Regions from separate parts of the Homo sapiens genome. Here all the other regions are linked to region 5. Evidence: promoter capture Hi-C in human tissues and cell types (Jung and others, 2019). All regions are on one chromosome and are shown on one strand. The core of a region is centred on a gene start or on the middle of the fragment in contact, and the rest is flanking DNA. Distances in the headings are between cores, read along the strand shown.

Region 1 (2,700 bases), core at 135-2,634, 720 kb after region 5:
TCTTTTTCTGGCTTAAATATAATTATAGGCCGGGCACAGTGGCTCACTCCTGTAATCCCAATACTTTGGGATGCCGAGGCAGGCAGATCACGAGGACAGGAGATCGAGACCATCTTGGCCAACATGGTGAAACCCTGTCTCTATTAAAAATACAAAAATTAGCTGGGCGGAGTGGCGCATGCCTTGTAGCCCCAGCTACTTGGGAGGCTGAGGCAAGGAGAATTGCTTGAACGCGGGAGGCGGAGGTTGCAGTGAGCCGAGATCACGCCACTGCACTCCAGCCTGGAGACAGAGTGAAACTCTGTCTCAAAAATAAATAAATAAATTATATATATATATAAAATTATAAAATTTTGCTGAATGTTTCATTGTCTGCCTGGTATAGTGTTAGATATTTTAAATATAAATTGATAAGAAAATAGATACTGGCTTCCTAAGTCCCAAAACTAGAGGAAGTAATGCAGTCTACCTACTGACAAAATGAACTAGAATCAAAAGTTTAGTATAATTAACCTCTTTCCTAACCTTTTAATTTTGTCTGTGGATTATATCTGCTATGGAATGAAATGACAAACCAGAAGAGTAAAATGTAGAAGGCTATAGACTAGGAGTCAGAAGTCCTGGTTACTTTTTTCTACCTACAGTCTGGTAGTTCTTAACTCTATCAGGTACAGTGCCCGCTTTTTATAAAGAATGTCTTATGACATATCCTTATGACATTTCAGAAGTGAAATTCATAGATAATATGACCTAACTGTATAGGTACCTTTCCAAAAATCTATATAAAACGCCCTAACTAGATCGGGCATGGTGGCTGACGCCTGTAATCCCAGCACTTTGGGAGGCCGAGGTGGGCGGATCACGAGGTCAGGAGTTCCAGACCACCTTGGCCAACATGGTGAAACCCCCATCTCTACTAAATGTTAAAAAATTAGCCGGGTGTGGTGGTGCGTGCCTGTAATTCCAGCTACTCGGGAGCCTGAGGCAGGAGAATCACTGGAACCTAGGAGACGGAGGTTGCAGTGAGCCAAGATCGCGCCACTGCACTCCATCCAGCCTGGGTGACAGAGCGAGACTCCATCTCAACAAAAAAAAAAGAAAAGAAAAGAAAAAAATGCCCTAACTATAATATAAAGGGAAAATAGCAGTAAGTTACAATAAAATAATTTATAGTTCTTATGTAAATAGATTGGACACAACTATATTAGAAGACAAAACATGACCCCACAGATTTCTAAAGGGACCCCAAGAAATACAGCCAAGTTGAGAATCACTGCTATATGATGCAACAGGGACCCTTCTAGGGCTTGTAGAGATTATGATATGTGTATATTGTTATAGGAAGATCAGAGCTAAATAGCATAATAAAACTAATTGTGCAACATTGTGAAAACTATTGATGAGGATTTATTTTCCTCATGCTAGGTCATTCGTAGATAGTGATCATTCTACTTCAGCCTTAATGGTGATCTTGAGACGGGAAGATTTAGAAGGAAATCTATCTAGCATGTCTTCACTATCAACATGAGTAAGATCCAGCTGAACAAATGAAATTTTCTATATAAATTTCAAGCTTGAACTCAAAAAAAAAAAAAAAAAAAAGACTTTGACTTCCTGTTTTTATGGAGTGATAGAACATTTGCTTAAAGGAGATATTACTCCTTGCCTAGGAAATATTTCTTCCCTCTCAGTAAATTCTAATGATTTCTAAAAGTTGTGATTTTTGTTAAAATTTCTAAATTTTCTCATTTTACTGAGAATCATTTAGTACCGAATTTTAAGTTAGTTTCTGTATGTTTTAACCATAAGTCAGGCAAACACATAGCTTTGCCTCAAATTATGTGCATAGCTTTTAGAGATAATTAACAAAATGGAGAAGAAAGTATTGAATAAATCAAGCATATCAGATCCATATAATACTTTTAAAATGTCTTCTTACTGAATGCAGTTAGAATATATGAGTTCTGGCAAAAGATAAAACTAAATACTGAATACAAATGAAATATTTTTCTTCGATTATTTTGATAAATCTCCTTTAAAATTGATTTTTGAAATAAGACATTATATAGGTAATTAAATGCTTAATTTAGAACATGCAGAACTTTTTAGTTTAATTCTTTATTGATCTGGAAAGCTAATACAAATAAAAAATATATATAGGAAAATTTTGCCCTCCAAAAGGTTTTTTTTTTTTGTAATGGGAATTGTTTCTTATTTGAAATAGGATATGAGTTTTTAAACTACTATTTTTACCAGGAATTTGTATGTCTCTGTAGACTATGGACCATGCATTAGCTGAACTTTTTAGTTATTTATTAACCCAATATCAGGTTATATCTATAATGACTTTTGAAAGAATATATTAATATCAGTCAAATAAGATGTATAGTAATTTGTTTTGTTCTGGATAACATTTTATAAGATTCATTTAAATACACTTGTTAATACGGGTTTGAGATCTACTTTAGAAACCTGCACTTTCAACTCTCAAGTCTGTAGTTGCCAGAAGTTTACATTAATAAAGTTTTCATTATAAACTGCTGGCAATATTTGTGTCAAAACTAACATCAATGTAAAGAAAACAAGAGAAGCAGCTTTTTATGAATTAGCACTTTAAAACATTATTTCCAAAGATTTGATTTCTTTCTCTAGACTTGCTCTTTCCAATATGGTAGCCACTAGCTACATCTGGCTACATTT
Region 2 (2,700 bases), core at 32-2,531, 610 kb after region 5:
GGAAGAGCTTTGTAAACAGAAGGACTTACGGCTTGGTAATGTGTGAGTATTACCTTCCAAATATTGCTAAAGAATGTATGTGCTTTAGCATGGAACTGTCATGAATGAATGAAAATTTGGGACTCATCAACGGTAGTGCCTCATAACTTACAATTGAATTTTACTTACTGGAACAACTTTTTAATACATTCATTGATTTAATCATTGTTTGGGTAGTATTACAGCAACAGTCTCCTCCTCTCCTGCCCTCTCCACCCTCCCTACGTATACACACCACATACCAGATGTGGCTGATAAATGCTTTGGATTAATATATCTGGATTTTACTTAAACAGTGATTTTTTCTTTTGTAGGAACCTCCATATTTAAGAATTCCCAGTAGCTACTTTTTACCCAATATGGCAGGCATTACATTCGTGCCTTAGGATATATTATAGTGATTGAGTTTCTGTTTCTAAACATTTTTGATGGAAAGAATGAGTATAAGAGGCAGTTCCTTTTTGCAGCTCCACGCCAGGGGACCAGGGTTACACACATTACTATGTCTGTTAAACTTCTTGGAAGCCATCCAGTATGTTATGGTGAGTTTCATGTGCAAGTGGTGAGCCACTAAAAGGCTTGCACAGTATTATAACTATTCTGAGGAGAGGAGGCATTTGGAAATTCAGCAGTAAAGCAGCGACAGCAACAAGCAGCCACAGTGGTAGTAAAGAGAGGGCAGGTTCACAGTTAGCATATTTCACAGTGTGAGCCAGCGAGCACATAGCTTCCCATACTGCTGCTTGAAGGAGGCAAACCAAAACTCTACATTGCAAGATTTTTCTAGTTTCATGTTTATGATGTTAAGTCATGTGATAATATTGTACCATAAGTTGCCAACTTCATTTCACTCTAGAGAGGCTCCTTTGCTGCAGTGCTTTTTTGCTTTTTTTCTTTTTTTTTCTTGAAAGAGAAAAAATTTGTGCAATGTATGTTTATGCCTACACCATGCCGAGACGACACTTACCAGTAAATAATCTCTGTATCCCCGAGGTAAGATACTGTTTCTGCTTTCCCTGCACAGTGCTGCTGCAGCACGGAGCTGACCCAAACATTCGGAACACTGATGGGAAATCAGCCCTGGACCTGGCAGATCCTTCAGCAAAAGCTGTCCTTACAGGTAAGAAGACAGAGAGCTACCGAATGATTATATCTGTGTAACTCCTTACTTGATTTTATAAAATCTTGTTATGCTGAATTTTTCTTTTCACTGATGAAGCTAAGCAAATATATCTGCCATTATCTACTACTTTATTATTGATTTGATATCTGTCTCATTAATTGCTATGCTGTCGTAAGCATAAGCAGTAAGATTGTTGGTCTACTTAGAATGATAGCATTAAATCATAACATCTTTCACTCGTATTTTAGTCATTTTTATGGTTTATATCATAATTTTTCTGTATCTCATCCTCTCAGTTGTTTAAGACCTTTACTGTTGAGCAAGCAAGGGCATTTATATTACTATAAAAGTAGTTTTGATTGGAAAGACAACCTGCTGCCTGCTGCCTTATTTCTTGGATCGATAGTCAAATAAAATATGCCGCTGCCTCTCCCTTGCCACCCCGTTTATACTTTAATCATATGTTTTCACTTTTACCATGATAGCTAAGTTATTTTTAACTGAGGCGTTTATTATCTTTTTACTTCAGATAATGCAAATTTGTGGCTTAAATATTAGTTTTATTAAAGCAAATGCCAAGAACCAGCAAAGAGGAAATGCTAGAATGGAAAAGGTCTCTCATAACAATATAGAAAATAGTGCTCTAAGTGTTTTCATTGATCTGCATTCTCAAAATGCTGCATTGGATCTATTTTTGTTTTTATTCTTAGCATCTGAGTCCTGCTGCCTTTGCCCTCTTTTACTTAACTGACCTTCGTAATGAGCCTCTGTCACTGCAGTGCTAACAGTATTGTTTTAGGTTATGTGAAAGTAAATGACTTTTAACTACCTTTTAAATTTGCCCATGGTCGAAGAAAATAAATATTTTGTTCTTGTTTAAGTTTAGAGTCCATGGTGTGAAAATTTAGCAAAAATACTGAGGCGAAGGGAAAACGTTTATGTACAGAAAGCTTTGAAAATCTATGGAATTTTGCTTAATTACTCTGCATAGAAAAACAACTTTGCACTGTGCTAAAATCAATATAATTATTGCTCAGAGTAATATGACTTTTCTCAATCAAAGATTAGTGTATTTAGTTGCTGGATAACAGTAACATACACTAGAGTAATAAACCTACTTAAATTAGTGTAGATAAGAAATTTAAGTATAAATATATAATTTTAAGTAGTGAAATTAAAATACATAGCCTCGGGCCTGCTCAGATTCTACAGCCTTTCAGTCTCTTAACAAAGCCCTGGGCAACAATAGCAGCTTTAGAGTGGTCTCTGACCAAAGGAGAAATACAGTGCATAGTAACAGGGGTAGGTTATAAATGCTGAGCAAGACTCTTTGTATATCTAAATGTCCTCCCTCTGACGTTTCCTTCTCTCCAACTCTCAACACCCGCTTTGTCCATTTGTTAGATACATTTAATGCAACAACGCTTTTAGATCTACTTTCACTTTTTTAAAAGGCAAAATTTAATATAAGTTATTAACAAGAAACTATATCCTAATTTGTAATGAATTTCAGGGGAGATTATATTGGATGTTGTTAG
Region 3 (2,700 bases), core at 131-2,630, 630 kb after region 5:
GATGGTCATAAAAACTATGGCTTTTATGTTGGGCTGTTTTTCTCATTCACTTGGATCACTTGCTCCGGAAGCAGCAAACTGCCATATTGTAAACTGCCTTATAGACAAGCCCATTTGGGGAGGTACTGAAGTCTCTGGCCAGTAGCCAGTGAGAAACTGAGGCTTGTCAATAACCACATGAAGATTCTTGGAAGCAGATTTTCCAGCCGCATTTAAGCCTTGAGATGAGATATGATAGTCCCCATGTATAGCTTGGCAGCAACCTTGTTGGAAATGCTGAGTCAGAATCATCCAGCTAACCATTCCCAGATTCCTGACCCTCAGAAACTATGTGAAATAACATTCATTCTTTTAAGTTGTCATTTCCAGATGTAATTTGCTAGGCAGAAATAGATTACTAATACACTATAGGAATTAAGGAAAAAAAACTCATTTAACTGCATATATATATATATATATATATGTATATATATTTTTTTTCCAAAAATAAGCACAAGAAGGATAAACCAGAAAACATTGAAATTGATTACCTATAAGAACGTGAGAACAGAGGGTAGATAAGACATTAAGTAGACCATGCCATTTTGGTATAATTTTAATTTCTGGAGGCATGTTAATGTGCTACATATTAAAAAATAAAATTAAATTGAAGATGGGGGAAAAACACCTAAAATTTGAATGTAAGCAGAAATAAATGAGCCACCTATATTTCAAACAACCACACTGAAGAAAGTAAAGAACTAATCTAAGTAACTTTTGAACGTAATTCTTTGACTTCATATTCTTGGTGTAGGAGGAAAGAAAAGGGAATTTCAAACCAACTTTGACTTCTTATTAAGTTTGTTGTTCTTTGTTTTTTGCAGTGTGTGGTGTAGTAATTCTGCAACTATTTTATGTATGTTGTAGGATTAAGCAAATAAGTAAATGTGTTGGGAGCAAGGGCTCTTACTGTAGAAGAAGAAGATACAAATGTGGAAGGGGGAAGACAGAGGAGAAACTTGTGGATTTGGATTGAAGTTGTAGGCATCAGAATCACTGCGGGAAACAAACCTCTATTTCTGCTACAGAAAAGACCTAGAAGCAGTGAGACCCCAATAGCAGTGGAGCACACCTGCTTCCAAGAGCTTGGTTTCTACATGCCGTTTATTAAAAGACACCAAAACTTTGAAAAAAAAATGACTGATTTCAAAGCTAGGTCGGGGAAGGTGTAAAAGGAGCCTGGAACATCTTCTGTGCTAGAAAGTAATGAACTGCTCGGCCGGGCGCGGTGGCTCACTCCTGTAATCCCGGCACTTTGGGAGGCTGAGGCTGGTGGATCACGAGGTCAGGAGATCGAGACCACGGTGAAACCCCGTCTCTACTAAAAATACAAAAAAAAATATTAGCCGGGCGCGGTGGCAGGCGCCTGTAGGCGCGGCCACTCGGGAGGCTGAGGCCGGAGACTGGCGTAAACCCGGGAGGCGGAGCTTGCAGTGAGCCGAGACCGCGCCACTGCACTCCAGCCTGGACGACAGAGCGAGACTCCGTCTCGGGGAAAAAAAAAAAAAAAAAGTAATGAACTGCTCAAAGAAATAATGGAGACACATGAAAAGAACATAGGAACCATCCTGAAGGGGCTCCCAATGAACATATCCGGGATAGTTTGACTATCAAAGTGTATCATAATAGTGATGGATTGTATAGCCCATTGTATGAAATAGGAATTCTTCAGTGGTAATACATGAACGAATGGGGAGGGACACTTTCTTACTGTAGAATGCCTACTAATCAATGTGGAGGGACTGTTGGAATTGGAAAATCACCATTTGCAACCATGATAGTAAAGACTGGTTAGGACAACAATCGTTAGTGGATGCCAAATCTCAGGGGCAAAGTTTGATGAGCAGCTGTATAATTATATGATTCTCAGCATGATTGCTCATAGATTGATAATTACTTGGGAGAAACTATACATTGACAAAATCTGACAATACTTTTTTTGGATATCAAAATTAACATCACTAATGAGAATGAATTAAGCCTGTGTGCTGGCAGATGTAATACCTGAGAAGGTCACAACATTTCTTATGTTGTATTCTGGCTAGGGAGGCATGACTAAATCTCATGAGAAAACATTAAACAAATTCCAATTTAGGTTCATTCTACGAAATAGCCTGTATTTTTAAAAAATGTCAGTGTCTTGAAAGACAAAGGCTGAGGAATTACTCCAAATCAAAGGAAACTAAAGAGACATGACAACTAAATGCAAAATATATGATCCTGGACTAGAGGAGAAAAATGCTATAAAGGCTATAATAGGAATGACTGACAAAATTGGAGCACATACTGTATATTAGATGAAAAGTATTGTACCAGTGTTACTTGAATTTAATTACTGTACTGTGGTTACATGAAAAAAGTATTGTTTTTAAAAAATAGGCACTGAAGTACTAAACGCAAGGAGAAATAATGTATCGATGTATTGCAGCCTTCTCAAATGGATAAAAAATTGGTTGTTACATATACCTATGTGCATAAACATAAGCGAGAGGATATAAAGCACATGGGCAGATGATTATAAGTAGGTGAGATGGAGGATATGGAGGAGCCCCTTGTACTAATTTTGCAAATTTTCTGTTTGAAGTTATTTCAAGTAAAATGTTATTCAAAGTGATCATGCTGGGCATAAGAAAGAAAAAGGAAAACTGATTGATGTTAATA
Region 4 (2,700 bases), core at 55-2,554, 590 kb after region 5:
GGATAGGTTAATGGGTTAATCGGAGTGGGGAAAGATGACAGCATTCAGCACATCATGGATATTATTGTCATAGATAATTGAATATATGACAAACTCGATTGGTATGGGAATTTGTCCTCATTAGTGTTTGTGACTGAAAACGGGATTATTTCCCTGCTCCCACTGAACCTATTGACATGAGAAAAAATCTATAGCTAGAGATTTTGCTCAGTGAGAAGCCTTGAAACCTGTATTAATGAAACAATAATCTACTTTCACTTGAATAAATGTAATCAGAAAGTAGGATACTAGAAGCAGGACATACATTCTGGGCCAAGGGTAGCAGCAGGATCAGCTTGACTAGGAGGTTCTAGAACCTAGTAGTGGAGTTAGCTAATGAAAGGTATTGTTTATAAACTAGAGGTCTCTTGTAAAGCATCAGATAAATATTTGAAGTTATAGTAAATAACTGCATGTAAAGTTGGAGACAGAAACACACCAGTCAGGAAAACCAAGAATTTTGAAGTAAACAACCAAGCCAGCTCCAAGAACTTTAGCAGCAGAGGTATGTCAGCCTTCTCATTAGAATCCTCCCTTAAAGTTGCTGTGAGGTCTTGGCTTCAAGTCCACTCTTGTTGCTAAACCTGAGATGCAAAGAATCTGATGCCCCACTTTGAGTTAGATGTTGACCCTTAATCAGTTAGCTTTAGTCTCAGAGACGTTTCCTAGTGTGGACTTGGCCCCTCGGGCCTCACCACTATACATAGGAATCTACAACTGAGAGTAAATTGATATAGCGGGGCTGGGAGCCACGTGGGTGAGGAAGAGAAGAAAGTAAAAATGAGCTTGATTTTGATTTTGGATCCCTTCGAAAATTGATTACTGTTAATATTCTTTGAACCATCTCATGCCTTCAACGAAGATCTTAATACTCTTTGTGAAAGAAGTCTTCTGATAATATGTTTCTATAGCTGTCCACAAACTCTTCTGAATTAATTCTATATGCATATACTGCCACCCAACACGTCTCCTCTGTTCATGTGCATGCTCCATTCATTGTCCCGTTGAATGTTACGTACAAAATACAAGCTAAGAGATAAGATTGCTAAGAATTTCAGGTGGTGACAGCAGAGCATTGGGGCCCTGTGCAACTGCACAGCTTGTGTGTTCGCGAAGCTGCCCATGATTAGATCACAGTATGTGCGTGTTTAAAAATGCTCCACATAATTCCAGGTGTACTTAAGTAACACCCGGACTCATCTTCAGGGCCCTCCTTGGTCTGGCTCCCGTCTACATCATGGACTTCATCCTCATGTCCCTGTAATTCCCTCCCTTTCTCTCCACCTTCCAGCTACAATGGCCTTTTTGTCTCTCTAATGCACCAAACTTGTTCTGCCTGCGGTACTCTTTCCCCAGATTTTTCACTAATAATGTTAATTCATCTGAGTTGTGCCCTGACAAAGCTGTCATAATTTCTTGCCCTGCCCTGTTTGTTTGATTACTCTTTTATCATGTTTTATTTTACACCATAGCACTTATTACCTGGAATTATATCCTTATTTAATCATACATTTACTTGTTTGTTTGCCATCTGTGTACTCTTCCCAACTTTGTGCCTTAATATAAACACAGGAACCTACTCTGCCTTACTTTGCACCACATCCCTGGCATAATAAAGCTCTGTGCTTGCTCCGAGTAAAATGCCTACTCTGTGCCAGAACCTCAGTGTGGTTTTAATTGCATTTGCCTGATAAGTAATGATGTTGAGCATCTTTTCATGTGCGTGTTTGCCATTTGTATGTATTCTTTGGGGAAATGTCTATTCCTATCTTTGTCCGTTATTAAATTGGCTGTCTTTTCATTATTGAGTTATGATAGATAAAAGTTTCTTACTAGAAAAATGATTTGCAAATACTTTCTCCCATTCTTTGTGTTGTCTTTTCATTTTCGTGATATTGTCCTTTGAAGCACAGAAGTTTTACATTTTGGTGATTTGATTAATGGTTAACATTAAAAAGTCTGTTTCTGCTTTCGTTGCTTGTGCTTTGGTATCTTATCTGAGAATCCATTGTCGAACCCTAGATCATGATTTAACTCTGTTGTCATCTAGGAGTTGTAACTGAAATGTATTTAGGTCTGATGCATTTGGAATTGATGTTTGGAGATGATGTGAGGTGAAGGGTCCAACGTCATGCCTTTGCATGTGGCTATCCAGTTTTCTCATTTAGTTGTTCATAATATTCCTTTATAATCTTTTATTTCTGTAAGCTTAGTAATAATTTACTCCCTTTCGTGTATGATTCTAGTTAATAGAGTTGTCTTTTATTTTTTCCCTAGGTCCATTTGGCTAAATGTTTGTGAGTTTATATTGTGTGTGCATATCGTTAGTTTTTTTGTTGTTGTATGGTGTTTCATTGTATGGATGTAGCACAGTTGGTGGTTGTTTAGCTTGTTTGCAGTTTGTAGCTGTTATAACGCTGGATGTATGTCTCAGCGTGGACATGTTTTTTCACTTCTCTTGGATGGATCCCTGAGAGTGGGATTGCTGGGTGGAATGCTAAGTGCACATTGGACTGTAAAAGAAGCTGCGTTGCCCTAATGGCTGAGCATGTTGAGAATATTTTTATGTACAGTGGTCATTCATGTATATTTTTTGTGAAGTGTGCATATCTTTTGGCCATCTTTGGTTTTATTTTTATTTTTTGCTGTTACTGATTTTTG
Region 5 (2,700 bases), core at 168-2,667:
TGAGATGGGAGTGGTGACTGGTTGGGTAGGAGATGAAATCATAGGGAGTCGATGCTGTCCTCTTGCACTGAGTCAGTTCCTCCCGTGGGGGACACAAAATCAGATGAGCTAGTTTATCCAAGATCAGGTGAGTCAGTTTATCAATCTGGGAGGTGCCAGCTGATCCATCAAGTGCAGGGCCTGCAAAATATCTCAAGCACTGATCTTAGATTTTACAATAGTGATATTATCCCCAGGAGCAATTTGGAGAGGGTTAGAATCTTGTAGCCTTCAGCTGCATGAGTCCTAAATCATAATTTCTAATCTTTCGGCTAATTTACTAGTCCTACAAAAGCAGTCTAGTCTCAAGAAGAGGGTTTATTTTGAGAAAGGGCTATCACCTTTGTTTTAAACTATAAGCTATACACTAAGTTCCTCCCAGTGTTAGTTTGGCCTACGCCTAGGAATGAATAAGGATAGCCTGGAGGTTAAAAGCAAGATGGAGTTGGTTAGGTCTGATCTCTTTCACTGTCTCAATGATAATTTTGCAATGGCAGTTTCACATCTGAGGTTTCTATTGCGTGTTCCATGGTATTCAATAATCTCTTCACTCTGGTTGCTGGGAGCTCAAATGATTCCCAGTTCTGTGTGACCTCTCACCATTGTTTGGTGTACTGCTCCCCAGTAATTGTTCTTTCCTGGCCTTGTGGAGTTTCACGTTTTTTATTCAGTTAAAGATTCAAGGTACTCCTAAGCAGATTTCTGAAGCTCTTTTTCCATGTAATTCCCTCCTCTCCAGAATTCTGCCCTACAAATTCCAACCGACTTGGCCTACCCCAATTTCGTCAACTCCAATCTCTGTCTTTTCAACCCAGGAGATCCTAGGTTTCCATATGATTTCCTTTCATCGCACCACAGACTGGAAATCGCCTCTGGGCAAAAGGGCAGGATGATATACGGCTCCTTTTATTTCTTTTCTCTCAGGTAAAACAGTCCACAGCTGTCCGTTGTCCAATGTCTGAATAGGTGTCTCCTATATTTTGTTCCGTTTTCTAATTGTTTATAGTGGGACACTAAGTCCCGACCCATTTTCTTTTCTTGCCCAGAGTGGAAGTTTTAGGAAACTCCTTATGGAAAATGTGAATTGTTTTATTATTTTTTATGGTCGAAAACATCTTTCTCTATGATATCTTCCCACTCACCCTACTTTTTTCCTTCTCAGGAAACACTGACGGGAACACACGTGCCGGTGCTACCCTCCAGTGACTGGACTAGATCCTTGCGCAACTTCAACCCGCGCTAGCTCCGCCTACGGCCGGCCACGCCCCGTCTTCTCACCGGCGCGCCTCCCTCTTGTTCGTCCTCCCTCCCCCTGTGGACTGCGGCGCTGGCGTTCCGCGCACGCCGGCTCACTGCGCCTGCCCGGCGTGTGGACGCCACACGCTCCCGGAAGTGGGAGGTGGCCGCTGGAGTTTGTGTGGCCGCCGCCGCGGGAACGCGAGCCCGGTAATTTTTCAACGGAGAAAGGCGAGGCTTTCGGGCTCTGCAGAGTGAGAGTTAGCAAGTGTCCGGCTCCAGCAACTCTCCTCTGGCGTGACAGCCGGCATGGAGGATCCACAGAGTAAAGAGCCTGCCGGCGAGGCCGTGGCTCTCGCGCTGCTGGAGTCGCCGCGGCCGGAGGGCGGGGAGGAGCCGCCGCGTCCCAGTCCCGAGGTGAGGAGTCGACCCGCGCCTGGCTGTTGGCGCCAGCTGCCCCGTCCCCAAAGCGCCCTCGGCACCCCTTTCTTCTCAGGTGTCCCGCAGAAGGTGCAGCTGTGCGCCCTTGGACCCCAGCCTCTTCCTCGGTGCCCAGCTCCCTGGCTTTATCCTCGGGTGGGTGTCTTGGAGCCCCCTCAGGGCCGAATCACTCTCTGGGAGGGAGGAAATCGTCAAGACCAGTTCTGTCTACAGTGGGTTAACAGGTTCTAAGAGGGAGTTTTGCTTTAAACTTAATTCTGTGTTCACGGTTGCTGTTGTCACTCCATGTAGCCGTTATGGGTAGTTTGCAAGGCTTTATGTTTTTAAAATCTCACCATATACGCTAGGTATGTCACTTCATGCCTGTTTTTAAAAAAAGAAAAAATTTAAAAAGCACTCACCAGCATCCCTGTCTCTGTACCTGTTAAGTGGAGCTTCGTCTTAGCTGCTTTTGCTCATTAACTGGTGTCTCATATAACCATAGTATAAGATTGAATGAATCATTTTGACATCTCATCGGTTGAACTTAGTTACAGTGGCAAAGTTGTAGAACAGTCTTAAAACTTATTTAACGAATGTTAATTGTTGACTAGCGCTGCGGATTGTAAGTGATTGAATACTAAAATTGATCTTTTCCTAATAATAAACATGTTGAACACTTCGTAAAGCTTCATAAAGTGCGTATTTGCAAGAGGCCTCCTAACTCTTGCTCCTTCCGTCCACAGTCAGTTTCCATCTGGCAGCTAGAATGAGCTTTTCAATAACATGAATTTGGCTTATTCCCCTCCTGAGTCACTTCCATTTGCTGCTCTGCGGGGTCGGGTGCCTGCCTCCCTTGGTAATTGCATCTCACACAGTTTTTTCCCTTTTGTTCCCAGTGCCCCTCGCTGCCTTGTGTTCTTTGACATTGGAAAGAAGGTCTCGTTAAGGATCTCTGTATGTTCCTTTTGCCCTGTGTGCACTTCCTTTGGATCCTTGCAATTA
Region 6 (2,700 bases), core at 94-2,593, 680 kb after region 5:
ATTTGCCTAGAGATATGTGGGGGTTTGAGACTTTAGGTTTTTTTTTAATGTAATATGTGGGATTATACAATGAGAGTGTAAATTTTAAGTACTCTTAATTCTATACTGTGACTTGATGATTATCTAATTAGGTAATATGTGAGAAGTTAATATTTTGTTTCCCAAAGACAATTGTTTTCCTAACCTTTAGAATTCTGAAAATTATAAAACATCAATAAGGTTTTATACAGTTTATATTGTTACTATGCTTTTATTTTACACATAAATCAAAATTGGCTCCTGGCTACACTAGAAATTTTATTGGCTTTTTTTTTCCCTAAAAGCAGAATTTTTTTTTGTTCTAAAATGCTACCTTTTGTTGTTGCTCTAAAATGATACTTTTATGCAATTATATACGTGTTATAATGATGACCACTTTTAGAAACATAGGGACATAGATGTTATTTAGTCATCTTCTACCTTCTGCCCAGTATGATTAGTCATAACAGTCCACAATTCATTATTGCCATTAGGTGAACCAGAACCTGAAAATAGGTTGTTGCCTTTCTAGAATTCTTTATTCCTTTATTTTCAAACTTGGATTTTTTGATCTTTAATCTCCCTTTACAGTGTTTTATATCAGTATCAGATGTTTTATTAGCTATTATCCACATGTTCTGGCCTTGTTTGATATCTAAATTTAAGGTGGTAATATTCTCTTGTTTTCCAGTGTTAATTTTCGTAAGGATACCTTTTATAATAAATGAAAATAAATATTTGAATAAAATTAGTCCAACAGTCAACTCTTTTGAGAGTTCTTTGTGGTTCCTCTCTGTGTTATTCTCCTTTTCTAGGTGTCTTTATCCCCTTCCAAAATAAATGTCCAAAATTATCCATTCCTCATCTTAATAGGCAATAGGTAGGGGTTAGGGACTATTGCACATATTTCCAAATAGAAATAATATGTATCTTTGAATATATCTACTCTGCCTACTGTTGCTACTAGTATATGTCACCAATTAAAAGTAACTAATATTTGATAGGTGCTTTTAAAATAACATCTCCAATGTAATTTTGAGTATTTCAGGTTTCCCTCTGCTCCTTTCATTCATTCATTCCACCAACACTTAATACCTACCATGTGTGGGTCACTGTGCTTAGTGTCATGGGAGATAACTATATGGTTGATGGTACTGGTTAACGGGGAGCTCAAACATTGGTAGAATGATTAAGACATTATGGAAGACATTGAAGCTAATGCATTAAAATGATACAGTATTCCTTTTGCGGTGATACAGTTATAAAGTGCTGATTTAAGGTGACAGTGTTTTTTCCTGGCCCTTTTAGTTTTAACGCTTTAGTATTTAGTATACCCTTCTGTAAGAAACCACAAATTTAGATGAGCAGGTAATTGGAGGAACATGATTTTAATTCAGAAAACTTAAGGATTTCTTTAAGTGTCAACTTTCTGTAAATATTTGCTTCCAAATAGTTAATAATGAAGATGACTGGAAACAGAGAAAAGTAAAGTGTTTGAAAACTACTTTCAAAAGGAAATCAATCAGAAATAAAGTAGAATTTAGTGAATTTAGTGCTGTACCTTGAAGACACCATAGAAAAACTGTGATAGGGCAAATAGACTGTAAGGTCAGAGGGATTGGGTTCTATTCTGCTTTCCAAGTGTGTGTCTATGGCTCTAGAGTTTTTAATTTACTCACTCTCAAATGGAAATAACCATACCCTTTCCACAAGGCATTTGAGAGGATTAAGTGAAATAATGTGGTCAGTATACCTAGTACAGTTTGTAGCACACAGTAACCTTTAGAAAATTAGATTCCTACTCCTTTGATAATTTTTTCTGAAACTTTCAAATGTATCTAGAATGGACACTTACATACTTTTAAGTACTCCAGTGTTCCCCTTCTCTCCACTTAAATGTCCTTATTGTCCAAGCTCTGTCCCAGCTGCCTTTGGATAAAATAACCTATAGATTGTCTTGTAATCTATAAAGCATATAATTTAATTAATTCAGTTGGAGCTTGGCCTTCCCCTCTCTTCACCCAGTGTCACATTTAATAAATAAATTTGTCTAAATTAGCAGCTTATAAATTCAGAAATACATTCTTGAGATATATGCCCATTTTTAAACACGTGTTGATTAAAAATTAATATCTGGCTGAAAATAATGCCATATATGGAATTCCATAAACCCCATCCAGTGAAGAACAAGAAAGATGGAGGATTAGTGTAATTCTTTGTATCTACATTTAAGTTTTAGGGTTGTAGAGTTTCTCATTATTCTTGATCAGTACCCCCGTCTCTCAGTATAACTTTTTTCCAAATACTGTGTTTGGCCAGGATTTTAACAGTCTTTATGTGGTAGGTTGTTATTTGGAGATGCCTCAATAAACCGTCCCTTTTATTACTCATGCCCTTGTCTAGCCCCCTGCCACACTGACTCTGGGCTTAGCCTGGGACTGCTTTGAATAAAATAAGGCGCAAGTGATACTCTGTCCTATTCAGGACACGCCCCTGAGTTGGCCTGGCAGCTGCTAGTTTCTTTTTTTGTAATTCTTCTTGGAACCCAGCTGCCATGTCATAAGGCAGCCCAAGCAGCCATGTGACGAGGTCCACATGAAGAACTGAGGCCCCTAGCCAACAGACCCACCTGAGTTCGTATGGAAGCTTCTTAATGATTCTAACTATTCACACGTCCCAGAC
Region 7 (2,700 bases), core at 85-2,584, 530 kb before region 5:
TCCAGCATATAAACAGAGCCAAAGACAAAAACCACATGATTATCTCAATAGATGCAGAAAAAGCCTTTGACAAAATTCAACAACCCTTCATGCTAAAAACTCTCAATAAATGAGGTATTGATGGGACGTATTTCAAAATAATAAGAGCTATCTATGACAAACCCACAGCCAATATCATACTGAATGGGCAAAAACTGGAAGCATTCCCTTTGAAAACTGGCACAAGACAGGGATGCCCTCTCTCACCACTCCTATTCAACATAGTGTTGGAAGTTCTGGCCAGGGCAATCAGGCAGGAGAAGGAAATAAAGGGTATTCAATTAGGAAAAGAGGAAGTCAAATTGTCCCTGTTTGCAGACGACATGATTGTATATCTAGAAAACCCCATTGTCTCAGCCCAAAATCTCCTTAAGCTGATAAGCAACTTCAGCAAAGTCTCAGGATACAAAATCAATGTACAAAAATCACAAGCATTCTTATACACCAACAACAGACAAACAGAGAGCCAAATCATGACTGAACTCCCATTCACAATTGCTTCAAAGAGAATAAAATACCTAGGAATCCAACTTACAAGGGATGTGAAGGACCTCTTCAAGGAGAACTACAAACCACTGCTCAAGGAAATAAAAGAGGACACAAACAAATGGAAGAACATTCCATGCTCATGGGTAGGAAGAATCAATATCGTGAAAATGGCCATACTGCCCAAGGTAATTTACAGATTCAATGCCATCCCCATCAAGCTACCAATGACTTTCTTCACAGAATTGGAAAAAACTACTTTAAAGTTCATATGGAACCAAAAAAGAGCCCGCATTGCCAAGTCAATCCTAAGCCAAAAGAACAAAGCTGGAGGCATCACACTACCTGACTTCAAACTATACTACAAGGCTACAGTAACCAAAACAGCATGGTACTGGTACCAAAACAGAGATATAGATCAATGGAACAGAACAGAGCCCTCAGAAATAATGCCGCATATCTACAACTATCTGATCTTTGACAAACTTGAGAAAAACAAGCAATGGGGAAAGGATTCCCTATTTAATAAATGGTGCTGGGAAAACTGGCTAGCCATATGTAGAAAGCTGAAACTGGATCCCTTCCTTACACCTTATACAAAAATCAATTCAAGATGGATTAAAGATTTAAACGTTAGACCTAAAACCATAAAAACCCTAGAAGAAAACCTAGGCATTACCATTCAGGACATAGGCGTGGGCAAGGACTTCATGTCCAAAACACCAAAAGCAATGGCAACAAAAGCCAAAATTGACAAATGGGATCTAATTAAACTAAAGAGCTTCTGCACAGCAAAAGAAACTACCATCAGAGTGAACAGGCAACCTACAACATGGGAGAAAATTTTCGCAACCTACTCATCTGACAAAGGGCTAATATCCAGAATCTACAATGAACTCAAACAAATTTACAAGAAAAAAACAAACAACCCCATCAAAAAGTGGGCGAAGGACATGAACAGACACTTCTCAAAAGAAGACATTTATGCAGCCAAAAAACACATGAAGAAATGCTCATCATCACTGGCCATCAGAGAAATGCAAATCAAAACCACTATGAGATATCATCTCACACCAGTTAGAATGGCAATCATTAAAAAGTCAGGAAACAACAGGTGCTGGAGAGGATGTGGAGAAATAGGAACACTTTTACACTGTTGGTGGGACTGTAAACTAGTTCAACCATTGTGGAAGTCAGTGTGGCGATTCCTCAGGGATCTAGAACTAGAAATACCATTTGACCCAGCCATCCCATTACTGGGTATATACCCAAAGGACTATAAATCATGCTGCTATAAAGACACATGCACACGTATGTTTATTGTGGCATTATTCACAATAGCAAAGACTTGGAACCAACCCAAATGTCCAACAATGATAGACTGGATTAAGAAAATGTGGCACATATACACCATGGAATACTATGCAGCCATAAAAAATGATGAGTTCATGTCCTTTGTAGGGACATGGATGAAATTGGAAACCATCATTCTCAGTAAACTATCGCAAGAACAAAAAACCAAACACCGCATATTCTCACTCATAGGTGGGAATTGAACAATGAGATCACAAGGACACAGGAAGGGGAATATCACACTCTGGGGACGGTGGTGGGGTCGGGGGAGTGGGGAGGGATAGCAGTGGGAGATACATCTAATGATAGATGACACGTTGGTGGGTGCAGCGCACCAGCATGGCACATGTATACATATGTAACTAACCTGCACAATGTGCACATGTACCCTAAAACTTAAAGTATAATAAAAAAAAAATTAAAAAAAAAAAAAAAAAGAGATGTGATTGACACCTCCGATGCTGAGCTGGCTCCCGGTTCTGGCATCCTGACTGTTGACACACAGAAACTTAAAGGTGTACTAGAACTTGAGGTTTTGTAATCCGAACCCTAGAGTTTGCAAGTGAGGCCCCTGAAACCTATGGAGCTCGTTGGTTGAGGAGCGCAGTGAGCGCAGGGTCACTTCCAGAATCATGCTGGCCGCCTTTGGCCACTTGGTCACACTCTTCCTCTCTCTATGCTCGTTTCTCCATCTCTCTCTCTCTCTCTCTCTCTCTCTCTCTTTTTTTAGACTGAGTTTTGCTCTTGTTGCCCAGGCTGGAGTGCAATGGTGCGATCTTGGTTCACTGCAACCTCCGCCTCCCGGATTCAAGTGATTCTCCT

The links. The method cuts DNA at HindIII sites, captures the fragments that hold promoters and counts their contacts. A contact is called where the count stands out against the background at its distance.
Region 1: a fragment that was not itself captured here is called in contact with the fragment with the promoter of ERI1 in region 5 in 1 of the 25 tissues and cell types used here (mesenchymal stem cells).
Region 2: a contact is called between a fragment that was not itself captured here and the fragment with the promoter of ERI1 in region 5, in 1 of the 25 tissues and cell types used here (heart left ventricle).
Region 3: a fragment that was not itself captured here is called in contact with the fragment with the promoter of ERI1 in region 5 in 1 of the 25 tissues and cell types used here (aorta).
Region 4: a contact is called between a fragment that was not itself captured here and the fragment with the promoter of ERI1 in region 5, in 2 of the 25 tissues and cell types used here (bladder and small bowel).
Region 6: a fragment that was not itself captured here is called in contact with the fragment with the promoter of ERI1 in region 5 in 1 of the 25 tissues and cell types used here (dorsolateral prefrontal cortex).
Region 7: a contact is called between a fragment that was not itself captured here and the fragment with the promoter of ERI1 in region 5, in 1 of the 25 tissues and cell types used here (lymphoblastoid cells).

What each region holds. Positions count from the first base shown.
Region 1 is chr8:9,720,973-9,723,672 of GRCh38, forward strand. The region is part of intron 12 of TNKS (tankyrase); the gene reads left to right. Among named protein-coding and RNA genes, the nearest start is that of MIR597, 19 kb to the right of the region's middle. The HindIII fragment of the contact is 4,617 bases long and covers 1-2,700 here.
Region 2 is chr8:9,614,519-9,617,218 of GRCh38, forward strand. It overlaps TNKS (tankyrase), which reads left to right. Exons shown (of 27, transcript NM_003747.3): 3 at 1,064-1,159. Among named protein-coding and RNA genes, the nearest start is that of TNKS, 60 kb to the left of the region's middle. The HindIII fragment of the contact is 4,214 bases long and covers 1-2,700 here.
Region 3 is chr8:9,633,640-9,636,339 of GRCh38, forward strand. The region is part of intron 3 of TNKS (tankyrase); the gene reads left to right. Among named protein-coding and RNA genes, the nearest start is that of TNKS, 79 kb to the left of the region's middle. The HindIII fragment of the contact is 5,989 bases long and covers 1-2,700 here.
Region 4 is chr8:9,588,932-9,591,631 of GRCh38, forward strand. The region is part of intron 2 of TNKS (tankyrase); the gene reads left to right. Among named protein-coding and RNA genes, the nearest start is that of TNKS, 34 kb to the left of the region's middle. The HindIII fragment of the contact is 6,330 bases long and covers 1-2,700 here.
Region 5 is chr8:9,001,480-9,004,179 of GRCh38, forward strand. ERI1 (exoribonuclease 1) reads left to right here and starts at 1,418. Exons shown (of 7, transcript NM_153332.4): 1 at 1,418-1,692. The coding sequence starts at 1,585. It overlaps LOC105379227 (a long non-coding RNA gene), which reads right to left and starts at 1,263. Exons shown (of 3, transcript XR_002956680.2): 1 at 1,182-1,263. The HindIII fragment of the contact is 7,447 bases long and covers 1-2,700 here.
Region 6 is chr8:9,683,645-9,686,344 of GRCh38, forward strand. The region is part of intron 5 of TNKS (tankyrase); the gene reads left to right. Among named protein-coding and RNA genes, the nearest start is that of MIR597, 57 kb to the right of the region's middle. The HindIII fragment of the contact is 5,513 bases long and covers 1-2,700 here.
Region 7 is chr8:8,474,592-8,477,291 of GRCh38, forward strand. No RefSeq gene overlaps it. Among named protein-coding and RNA genes, the nearest start is that of LINC02950, 15 kb to the left of the region's middle. The HindIII fragment of the contact is 4,712 bases long and covers 1-2,700 here.